3 separate regions of the Homo sapiens genome follow, and all the other regions are linked to region 2. Evidence: promoter capture Hi-C in 16 types of primary human blood cells and fetal thymus (Javierre and others, 2016). All regions are on one chromosome and are shown on one strand. The core of a region is centred on a gene start or on the middle of the fragment in contact, and the rest is flanking DNA. Distances in the headings are between cores, read along the strand shown.

The links. Contacts are between HindIII fragments. The CHiCAGO score rates a contact against its expected background, and 5 or more counts as called.
Region 1: a fragment that was not itself captured here is called in contact with the fragment with the promoter of ANKRD10 in region 2 in 1 of 17 cell types (naive CD8 T cells); the score reaches 5.3 in naive CD8 T cells.
Region 3: a contact is called between a fragment that was not itself captured here and the fragment with the promoter of ANKRD10 in region 2, in 1 of 17 cell types (total B cells). The highest score is 5.4, in total B cells.

The regions. Positions count from the first base shown.
Region 1 is chr13:112,589,889-112,593,427 of GRCh38, reverse strand. LOC124903251 (a long non-coding RNA gene) reads right to left here. Exons shown (of 2, transcript XR_007063945.1): 2 at 1-3,414. It also overlaps a transcript of TUBGCP3 not described here. Among named protein-coding and RNA genes, the nearest start is that of TUBGCP3, 3.5 kb to the right of the region's middle. The HindIII fragment of the contact is 1,860 bases long and covers 375-2,234 here.
Region 2 is chr13:110,913,673-110,917,011 of GRCh38, reverse strand. ANKRD10 (ankyrin repeat domain 10) reads left to right here and starts at 1,943. Exons shown (of 6, transcript NM_017664.4): 1 at 1,943-2,287. The coding sequence starts at 2,078. RefSeq lists silencers at 1,102-1,261, 1,392-2,051, 2,322-2,691 and enhancers at 629-1,303, 2,802-2,931, 2,655-3,331. The HindIII fragment of the contact is 15,206 bases long and covers 1-3,339 here.
Region 3 is chr13:109,787,478-109,791,041 of GRCh38, reverse strand. LOC124903211 (WAS/WASL-interacting protein family member 1-like) reads right to left here. Exons shown (of 2, transcript XM_047430835.1): 2 at 46-3,442. The coding sequence ends at 3,205. Among named protein-coding and RNA genes, the nearest start is that of IRS2, 2.7 kb to the right of the region's middle. The HindIII fragment of the contact is 176 bases long and covers 1,447-1,622 here.

The DNA.
Region 1 (3,539 bases), core at 55-2,554, 1.7 Mb before region 2:
TTGGAATTTAGATAAAGTCTCTCTCTCTGTCCCCCAGGCTGGAGAGCAGTGGTGTCATCGTGGCTCACTGCAACCTCTGCTTCCTGGGTTCAAGTGATTCTCTTGCCTCAGCCACCTGAGCAGCTGGGATTACAGGTGCGTACAACTACGCCCAGCTAATTTTTGTATTTTTGTAGAGATGGGGTTTTACCATGTTGGCCAGCCTTGTTACAAACTCCTGACCTCAGGTGATCCACCCACTTTGGCCTCCCAAAGTGCTGGGATTACAGGTGTGAGCTACCGCGCCCAGCATCCATTCTGATCTCACTCCCCTTCCTTCTACTTAGTTTGAGCTTGATTTGGTTTTCCTTTTCTAGATTCCTGGTGCGGAAGCTTAAACTATTCCTTTAATCTCTTTCTTTCTAATGCAACGATCAAAACTTAGCAGCATCCCGTCAATATTTTGAAATGTTTCTTTCTTTTTCGAAACTAGTTTTATTGAAACAGAGTTGGAATGCAACATGCTGCCTGGAAAGTTGGCTGGCTGCAGCCCAAATGCCCTGTGGGATCTTTCAGGTCTGACCACGGGTGATGACAAAGGCCCCACCTGGCTGCCTCATGGTGTGTGGCCAGTGCACTGCCGTGTCTGAAGGCTGTTGCGGGGAAGGACCTGGGTGCCCTGGGTATCCCCTGTGCCCAACCCAGGCACCTCCCTTCCGAGACCACATGGGTCCCTTGGCTGAGGCCTGTCTTAGGTACCTCTGCCAAAGCCTCCTTTTCAGGGGGCCTGGAAGACATTTTTCCCACTCTGACTTTGCATTCAGCACTTTTCCACTCTCAGCTGCCTCCCTCTCTCTCTTCCCCTGACTCCAGGGCCATAGAATGGCAGAAACCTTTTGTTAGGGGCTCTCTGGGCAGTGAGACAGTATCCCTTCACTGCTGTCTTCACAGACACACCTAACCTTCACCCAGTGCCGTGGGGGAAAATGAAACACCAGGGTGGGGGCTGGCACTCTCAGTGAGGCCTCTGGTTTCTACTCCTGCCGGGAGTGACACCTGCCTGGTGGAACCTGCGTTTGGCCTTTGACCCACCCACCACCCGGCACCTGGCAGCCGGCCCCTCTCGCTCAGCACCTCACAATGCACAGATTAAAAGTGTGTTGTTTGTTACATTTAAGAACCAGTATTGAAGCATTATGAATCAAAGTCCATACTTTGAATTATTCAGACTACCTAGTTTTATCTACTATCTATGTCGGTTGTGAACTATTCCATCCTATGTCCAGGCATAATGCAGAGAATGGTGTCCTGGCCACCTTGGGGGTAACCATGGCCATAGGTCATTATCACAGAGTCCAGATGTTCCATCTGGAGCCAACCAGTAAACACCCGGTCACTATGCCCACTCAGTGGCATGCCAGCCAGGACTCTGTAACACAATGGTGTAGATGCACTGTTCTCTGGGTTCCATCCCGTATCTCCAGTGCTCCTGGGCCAGGGATCTTTGATATGATTCTTTTGTTCCCAATGTAAAGGGGCACGTGAACTAAGTTGACCCAAAGAGAGGGTAAGTCAGGTGAAACCATCCCAAGTTTGTGTTATGCCATCCCGATATTGAGTGGTCTAATCTCTCAGCTGGTGTAGTACCAGCATTAAGGTATGTGGACTTTTACTGGAAAGCTCTTCCTATGGCTTTTGCTTTGTAAAGTATCATTCATAGGCCAGTGATGCACACTTGCCTTCATCATACTAGTGCTAAGCACCAATGACTGTCCTGAGAAACACAGACACATTTCTGATATTCTGTCTACTCTTGTCCTTGAAGAGGAGCTGCCACCATGGTAGGCCAGAACCACCAGAAAGGGGCGCAAGGCCACACACCTAACGAGTGTTGTCCTGTAATTTACTAGCACAGGCCCAAGCCTACTGCAAGAAGATGTTTGTTTCATGGGCAATGGCTGGTGATGGTAGCAACAAAACAGAAGAACTAGGGACAAAAAGAAGGAAGTGTGGTGGGAACTTGTAAAGGAAGACCTTCCTCATCTACTGACGATGATTATATTAAGGGTTTGTCTAGATACAGGCCTGGTCAGGTGTCTTGAGAAGGCTGATCGCCTCACATGTTGTTTTCTTCTCATCCTTGTTGGTTCTGGAGAGTTTTAGTTTTAGATCACCAATTTGAGATGAAGTCCAAATTGACAAAGCAGCTTTCCTTGCATGGGTGGCAGGTATCCAGGAATCAACTCCTTTAAGCTTAGTGGCACAAGGGTTGGTTAGGAGTCCCTGATAAGGTTCCTTCCTCCTTGGTGGAGAAAGTCCTTTAAAGGATGCTGTTTCCTACAAAGTCTCCTGGCTGAAGTATGTGTTCCTTGAGTTTTTGCTTCTTGGAGCTCACTGTGGAAAGAATCTTTTACTAAATAACAGTTTTTACTTAGGTGCCTTATGAGGCTGCTGCAATAATACAACCTGTCCCTTTTTAATATCATCGATTTACAATTTCCTGGAGACAATTTCATAGGTCTGTCCGTTATAATTTCAGATGAAGACAGTTGGTGTTTACCCATAAGGGCTGATCTTAGGTGAAGCAAAAACAAGAAAGAGCTTCCAGTCAAGGGAGTTTTAAAACTTCAGTTAATTTTGCCAAATGAGTTTTGATTATTCTGCTTGTGCATTCTACTAACCCAGATGACTGGGGTGATAGGCACAATGGAAATGCTGGAAAATGGGCCAGATTTTGCATACTAACTGGATTATTTGTGCAGTGAAATGAGTGCCTCTGTTGCTATAAAGTTCTTGAGGAACTCCCCAAATCGGAATAATTTTCTCTAAGATAATTTTACTTACCGCCAAGGCTGCTGCTCTTCTGCATGGAAATGCTTCTACCCATGAGAAAATACACAAACCATCACTAGGATGTGCCTGTATCTTTGTGATGGTGGTAGCTGAAAAAATCTAGTTGCCATACCTCGAAAGGGCCTTCTGGTAAAGGAAAATGACATGGAGAACTGGGTCAAGGTTTCCTTGCATTATATTCTGGGAAGACAGCCCTGACTGTATACCCGTGAGCAACAGTTGGAGAAGGTTTCCGACAACATTGTTCTCCTCAAGAAATCAATAATCTTATCAGGGCTCCAGTGAGTCACATCGTGTATGCACGTTAAGAAAGATGGCTGGACCGGGCGCGGTGGCTCACGCCTGTAATCCCAGCACTTTGGGAGGCCGAGGCGGGCACATCACGAGGTCAGGAGATCGAGACCATTCTGGCTAACAGAGTGTAACCCCGTCTCTACTAAAAATACAAAAAATTAGCCCGGCATGGTGGCGGGTGCCTGTAGTCCCAGCTAGTCAAGAGGCTGAGGCAGGAGAATTGCGTGAACCCAGGAGGTGGAGTTCACGCCATTGCACTCCAGCCTGGGCAACAGAGCGAGACTCCATCTGAAAAAGAAAAAAAAAAAAAGAAAGATGGTTGTAACTTAGTTGGAAGTATGAGTAGAACATTTGGTCAAACCGTACATCAGTCTCAGAAGCGCATGTGCCACTTTTGTTTCCCAATTTTCTCG
Region 2 (3,339 bases), core at 694-3,193:
TCTAAGCTCTGCCACAGGCATGCAGTTTGCCCTTGGACAAATTCCTTGACTTACCACCATCTCTGTTTCACCATTCCCAGAATGCAGCCTAGCAAGTAATCCCTCCCTTTCATTACATGGAGGACAAGATACACTCACGTCCTTTCGCAAAATGGGACACCTCTCTCCTAAGAAAGATGGAAATCAGGGGGATATATTTTAAAGAGATTAGATTAAAATCAACATGGCATGTGAGAAGAAAAATGATTACGTTCTAGAGTAAACAAAACCTGAAATGAGTTTATAGTCTATTCTCACCCTTTTGGTCCAAACAAAAAAGTATTGCTTGATTATTCTTTCCTGCTTCACTAACAGATTACAAACTCCCTGGGAGAAGATAGATTCTATGTGTCATATTTTCCATTCATTAGCAATTGCTCACTGAATTGAAATATTTGCTACTTCCCCACTATAGAGTGTTTCTCAATGTGTTTCATTCAGCATTGTACTCAACAAATGTTTGCTGTATGAAGACATGTCTGTGTTGAGTGTTTACACCACTAGTTAACAACTTCCCTTTGTTAAATCTTAGGTTTCTATTTTTTCGTTTTATTAACCAATGCTGCAATATGCTTTCTCGTGCATCAGTACTTCCCTAGACATCTAATTGCCTTGTTCAATTTGTGACGTAGAATTTTGCAAAAAGGAAGTTTACACAGCGAAAAACTATATATACAAATGAAATAAAATACATGATTTAAAAAGACCGCATATTTAGAAGCAAAGGAAATATTCATAAACATTGTGGTTATTCCTCAATAGTGAAATTACTGATGCTTTCATAATCAGAATAAAATTACATATGTAATAAAGTCCGTGATACTGTCATTCAAAATAGGGGATTTGGTACTCCCTTACATTTATACAGTTCTCAACAAAAAGCCTTTTATTGTTTGCTCTGTCTGGTCTTCTCGCTTATCTCTTAAACTTGCAAACGTATAGTCCTAGCCCACCGCACTCGGTTCCGAAGAAGGCGTCCCTCGGACAAAACCGAGGAATCTGTCCTGCTCTGTAAGGAACTAGGGCTTGCTGATTCCCAGATTTTAACGAGAATCCCTGCTCCCCGTAGGCGCTCCATAAATTTTTACTGGACAACTTCACCGCGCGCTACTGGGCCTCCGGGAGACCCGTGACTCCCACCCGCTCTGGGCGCGGGCCCGCAGAGCCTCAACCCGCGCCCCCGGCAGCCGGGATTCCCCGCCCGGACCGGCTCCCAGGCTGGAAACATCATGGTCCGCACCCGGGGCGCAGCCGAGACCCACCGCGCCGGAGGCCCCGGGACCCGCTCAGACCGCTGCTTGGCCACTCTACGCCCCTGAGCCCCCCACACAGCCAGCCCCGTGACCTCCGAGCCCCGTGACCTCCGAGCCCCGTGACCTCCAAGCCCCGGAAGCCGCTGTAGGCAGCGGCCCAGCCAGGCCCCGCCCCCTCCACCGGAGCTCCACGCGTCAATTCCAGCCAGGCCCCGCCCCCGGCCGCCCCAGGCGTGGACCCAAGCCAGGCCCCGCCCTCTGCCTGGCTACTCCAGGCGCCCACCGCCCCAGGCGTCCTCTAGCCCAAGCCCAATGCCCGGCTGCTCCAGACGTCGACAGCCCCATGCCCCGCCTCCTAATCGGCTGCTGCTGGCGTCCTCTGGTCCAGGCTCCGCTCCCTACCCGGCTGCTCCAGGCATCCTCTAGGCTAGACCCCGCCACCTACCGGCCGCTCCAGGCGTCCGCAGCTCCAAGCCCCGCCCTCCGCCCGGCTGCTCCAGGCGGCCTCCGGCTCAAGCCCCGCCCCCTGCCCGGCGGCTCCAGAGGTCCGCGGCTCCAGGCCCCGACCCCTGCCCGGCTGCACAAGGCGTCCTCTGGGCCAGGCCCCGCCCCCAGCCCGGCCGCTCCAGGCCCCGCCCCGCCCCCTCTGTGCGCGCTCCGCTCGGCAGCCTGTGGGACGCGACCGCGGCGCTAGTCTCGTTCCTTTGTGCTGCGGCGGCGGCTTCTCGAGTCCTCCCCGACGCGTCCTCTAGGCCAGCGAGCCCCGCGCTCTCCGGTGACGGACCATGTCGGCGGCGGGAGCGGGCGCGGGCGTAGAGGCGGGCTTCTCCAGCGAGGAGCTGCTCTCGCTCCGTTTCCCGCTGCACCGCGCCTGCCGCGACGGGGACCTGGCCACGCTCTGCTCGCTGCTGCAGCAGACACCCCACGCCCACCTGGCCTCTGAGGACTCCTTCTATGGCTGGACGCCCGTGCACTGGGCCGCGCATTTCGGCAAGGTGGGTGCGAACGCTTTAAGGCGCCATTTTCCCCGGCTGTCCAGTGGGAGTCGGGGAAAGCGGGTCTGAGGTGCGGGGGACGTGGGGCGTGCCGGGATCGCGGGGCGGAAGCGGGATCGACGGCGCCTGTGCCCCGAGGGGCCTAGGGCGCCTGTGCGGCAGCGCTCGCGGCCCGGAGTCGCGGCGGGGCAGCCGGGGGGCGCGGGGCGGAAGCGAGGTCGGTGGCGCCTGCGTCCGGAGGGGCCTAGGGCGCATGTGCGGCGGCGCGCGTAGCAAGTTTCTAACAAGGCGGGCTCCAAGGGTCCCGGCGCCTGTTGGCCGGATCCTGTGCGAGCGCGCGCGCGCGCGGATGGTGCGGGGCCCTCCAGGCCGGGCCGGAGGCGCGAGCGATTTCGCAGAGCCGGGTATTAGGCCGCGAAGTCGCCCAGGCGGCTTCCGGGGAGCCGAGCTGGGGTCAGAGGCGCGCGGGGAATGCCCGGGCGCGGTCGACCTTCTGGTTCCGCACAGCCTCGCCAGTAGCCGAGGGCCGCGCTGCGGACGAGCTCAGCCGAGGAGCAAGCGCCCCGGCGGGACTGGAAGGCCCCGGCAGCTGTGTGGGATGGAGGCCGGCTCTCCAGCTTCTGGGTTTGCTTTAAGGCTTGTAGCTGGCCCCGCTTCAGCAAAATTAGTGACGGCTGTGTTTATCTTGGATCTAAATTACTGCAGAAGTGGTTAAATTAAGCAGAATTCTCTTCCCGTGGAGGCTTTACGTTCCCCTCTTTTTTCTTAAACTGAAAATTCTGGGGGAACACAGTGCTGCTTTAAGGTTTTAAAAGGTTGGATAGCTACCGTTTCCTCATCTGTGAAGTCGTTGGGGTACTTGCTCTCAGAAATCTTAAATAAGATTTCACCGTGCATTTCAGAAGTGACTGGTTTTAATTAATATTTCTTAATTCACTGAAATTCAGGGATGTGTATAGTGTTTTTCTCGTAAGTGATGAGATGGGGTTAAATGGTTTTGCAGAAATATGTGAGAGGTAATGTGAAATAAGTTACTTTAAGAAGGCCTGGCC
Region 3 (3,564 bases), core at 285-2,784, 1.1 Mb after region 2:
ATCGGCAGCTAGGATAGCAACATGAAGCAACACACAGGACATCAATTTCATCATGCAAAATACCGGTGTATTATATTACAGGGGCCAAGCATTCCAAGGAAAAGTAATGATCTAAGAAGATGCTCTTGCATTTTAAAAATATCTACTAGTGTTATACAGTCATTAATGTATAATTTCCATTTCAATAATAGGAAGCCTTCTGGGAAAAAAAGCTTGTGTTGCTTCTTAAATCTAGAAACACATTCTCAAAATTCAAACAGAACAAAATCCAGAGGCATATTAATAAATATTTTCAACTCCTAACCGCAGTCACTTTTTAATTGGGCATTTATGTATTTCTTCAACATAATTATATTTATAATGAAAAAATGTTGAGAATACTGGATTAGCTGCATTTGTAACTACAACATATTTTTCTAAACAGTATTAATTCAATTGATAAGACTTTAAAAAAGTTATAGTAGTTTGTTCTATCATATATGCACATTAAATAATCATTTATTTTAGAAAATCCTCCCTCATAAAATGAACATTTAGGAAAGAGACTGATCCATATTTTTAACAAGAATAATAAACACACAAGTAGAAAGCCTTTATAATTTCCAAGGGGCTGATCAATTCCATTAACAAATCCTGATACTTTAAATGTTTGCAATGCCATACATAGCAAATGATCCAAACAGCAGTTATATTCTCTCATGTAAGTCATTCTGTTGCCCATACACAGAGTTAGCATGTTACAAAACTCTTGTGAAATTTCAGTTGAAACATTAGCAAATAAATTTGCTGGTAAAGTGCAAGAAGTTTCCTTATAAACCCTAGATGAGGAAAAGTCTGTCCACAGTTCGTTCATCAGAGGAATGGAATTTCTCAAATGAGCTACTGAACAACATTATCTAATAAAATGAAATATAATGAAATGGTGCCACTCATTTTAAAGATTAAATATATCCTTTGACAGAAACCTGTGAAGTTAAAAATCTTTCCCTCTTAAAATACCTTTTAAATTAAAGCTATTCTAACTAGTTATATAGCATTCCACTTAATCTGCTTAGTTTTTAGATTGAGCTCACCTAAATACAAAATACTGTCAAACACCTACAGGGCAAAGAACTAAAAAAAGAAAGAAAATTTCACAAGCAATAAAATGCTATTCACCTTTCTCCTCCCATACTTGCCTTTCCTATATGAAACAAAGAAAATAATTAGTGATGTTCATTATTGGTAGTGCTACTAGTATTTGTATTGTGAACCTGTAACATATTTTTAAATCTCTACACTTTTATATAATTGATTCTTTCTTGAAAAGTAATTATTTCAGAAGACTTCTAATAAAATAATCATTATTGTATATGATTCTGTTAAAAATAGAAAAAACAAACAAACAGAAAAAACTCCCTGCTGAAAGATATGGCCATTTTATTAGCTGTGAAAGGAAAGAAAGCTTCCAAGGAAAGATCTTGGACCATGAGAAAAAATTTCAACCAGGCTGTTTGCTGGCAAGAGGCCATGCCAGCCCCAGCCAGTCCTGCGTGCAGAGCATGTTGGCAGATGTTATTAGCTGACTTTTGTTGAAAAAGTATGGAAGAACAGTTGGAAAATCACAAGGTGTAGAACAAGCTTTAAATAAATAAATAGCTTATCTGGCAATAGAAAGGGGGAAAGAAAACAAGTTCCTCGGTTGAGGAAGAGGACTGGGATACTTCTAATTACAGAGTTTCTTACTGTTGGTTTGTTTCATGGGCTGACTCTCAATGAGAATTGAAATTGTATCATCCACATTTGTATTTGGAGGTTCTAACTGCAGAATTGCAATTAATTTCCAGTTTGCTGTAGGAAATTTATACTCTCTATGACAGAATACCACGGACATAGGTGATAATTCTTTAACCTTCTCTCTTTTGTCCCCAGTCTGGTAACTGAGGCAGTACATGGGGAAAGTGCTAACTGCCAATCCAGAGCTGCTGACACCTTAAAAACACTGGCCTTTAACACTAGGATGGCCCCAAGAAACAAGCAAACAGGAAAAGATGACACCTGCTAGCGTGTGACAGGCACAGCAAGTAAATGTTCAATACGGATATGAAAATGCAACTGCATAATAAAAGTCAACATGAAAAAGAAAAAGATTGCAAAATATACTTTCTCAGAAGAAACCATCACATGATGTTTAAAAGTGGTGGTTCCTTTAGCATTGTCTACTGATGGCTGGCAACATACAGGAACATAGAGGTGGCCCATTTACATCCTCATAAAAGTGGGATGTAAGTGATCACAAAGCCAATAAAACTACACCACATTTTCTTCAAGCACCAAGATAAGAATCCCTTCATCTTTCCTGACTAGACATATTGCTAGGCAACATTTGTGAACGTAAGAAAAGGTAACAAGATCTAAAAAGAACGCCGAAGCATAATGTTCATAAAGGTGGCGCCCCCAACACACACAATCATACACACATACCTATACACACACAATCACACAATCTATTATATAAACAAACACGCACACATGCACACATAGGTGCACAGACTTAAAATGGCATTTCTTGAGGTATTTTTTTTTAAGGTATGATTTAAAAATGGAAGATCAACTTTAAACACACCTTTTTGAGGCACACTGGGTGATATTTGCCACAATGATTATTCTTCCCAAATTCAGGCTACTGATCAATAATCCTAACTGTATACATGCTAAAAATAAAAACGCTATAATCTTTGTACTAGTCAGGGCTCTCTTGGCACATAAAATTAGCCAACACAATCTTCAAGTCACATGTTACAAAAACATATTAAAATATATATCACTCTTTCAAAAATTACACTTATTTTCTCTTAGATTAAGATTTTATTACTTTTAAGATACTTCTATGAATTATAGAGGACATCCAAAAGTAAACATCCGGGACTTAAAAACAATAACCAATATTATAAGATAAATTATTGCTGTAAATTATTTCATGAAGGCACAATTAAAAAAAAAATAAAATAAACAGCCAAAGCCTGTTTTGTTGAGTTTTCTTCGTTGCGCAGGATCGGGAGCTTGCTGGGATCTGAACTCAGGAAGCCCTCACCTCACCCTGACTTGGTCATTGAGGAGACGTAATTGCAGGGGTGCTTATTTGCTATAGGCTTTGAAAGTCACAAAAGCCCAGTAGATACATGAATTCGAAGCAGTTCTCCAAGGGCATCTCCAACTTGGCAGTCACCGCCCGCACCGCGCACACAGGTAGTGGACGCCCGCCCACCTGCCCGTCTGCTGGGCGCAGGGCGCTCCTGGGGTGGGGAGGGCGCTCCTGTGGGGGGAAAAGGGGCGCTCCTGCCTCGGAGGGGGAAAGGACGCCCCTGTGGAAGGAAGGGGGGGCTCTTGAAGCGGTGTGGTGAGAGGACGCTTCCGAGGAAGGAAGGGGGTGCTCCTGCAGCGGTGGGGGGAGAGGACGCCCCTGCGGAAGGAAGGCGGCGCTCCTGCGGGGGCTGGAGAGACGCCCGCGCGGTCTCCCGGCTCAGGGACCGCTGGCTCGCGGGTCCGCCCTCTCCCCGGCGCTATGGAAACCGCACTTTCTCC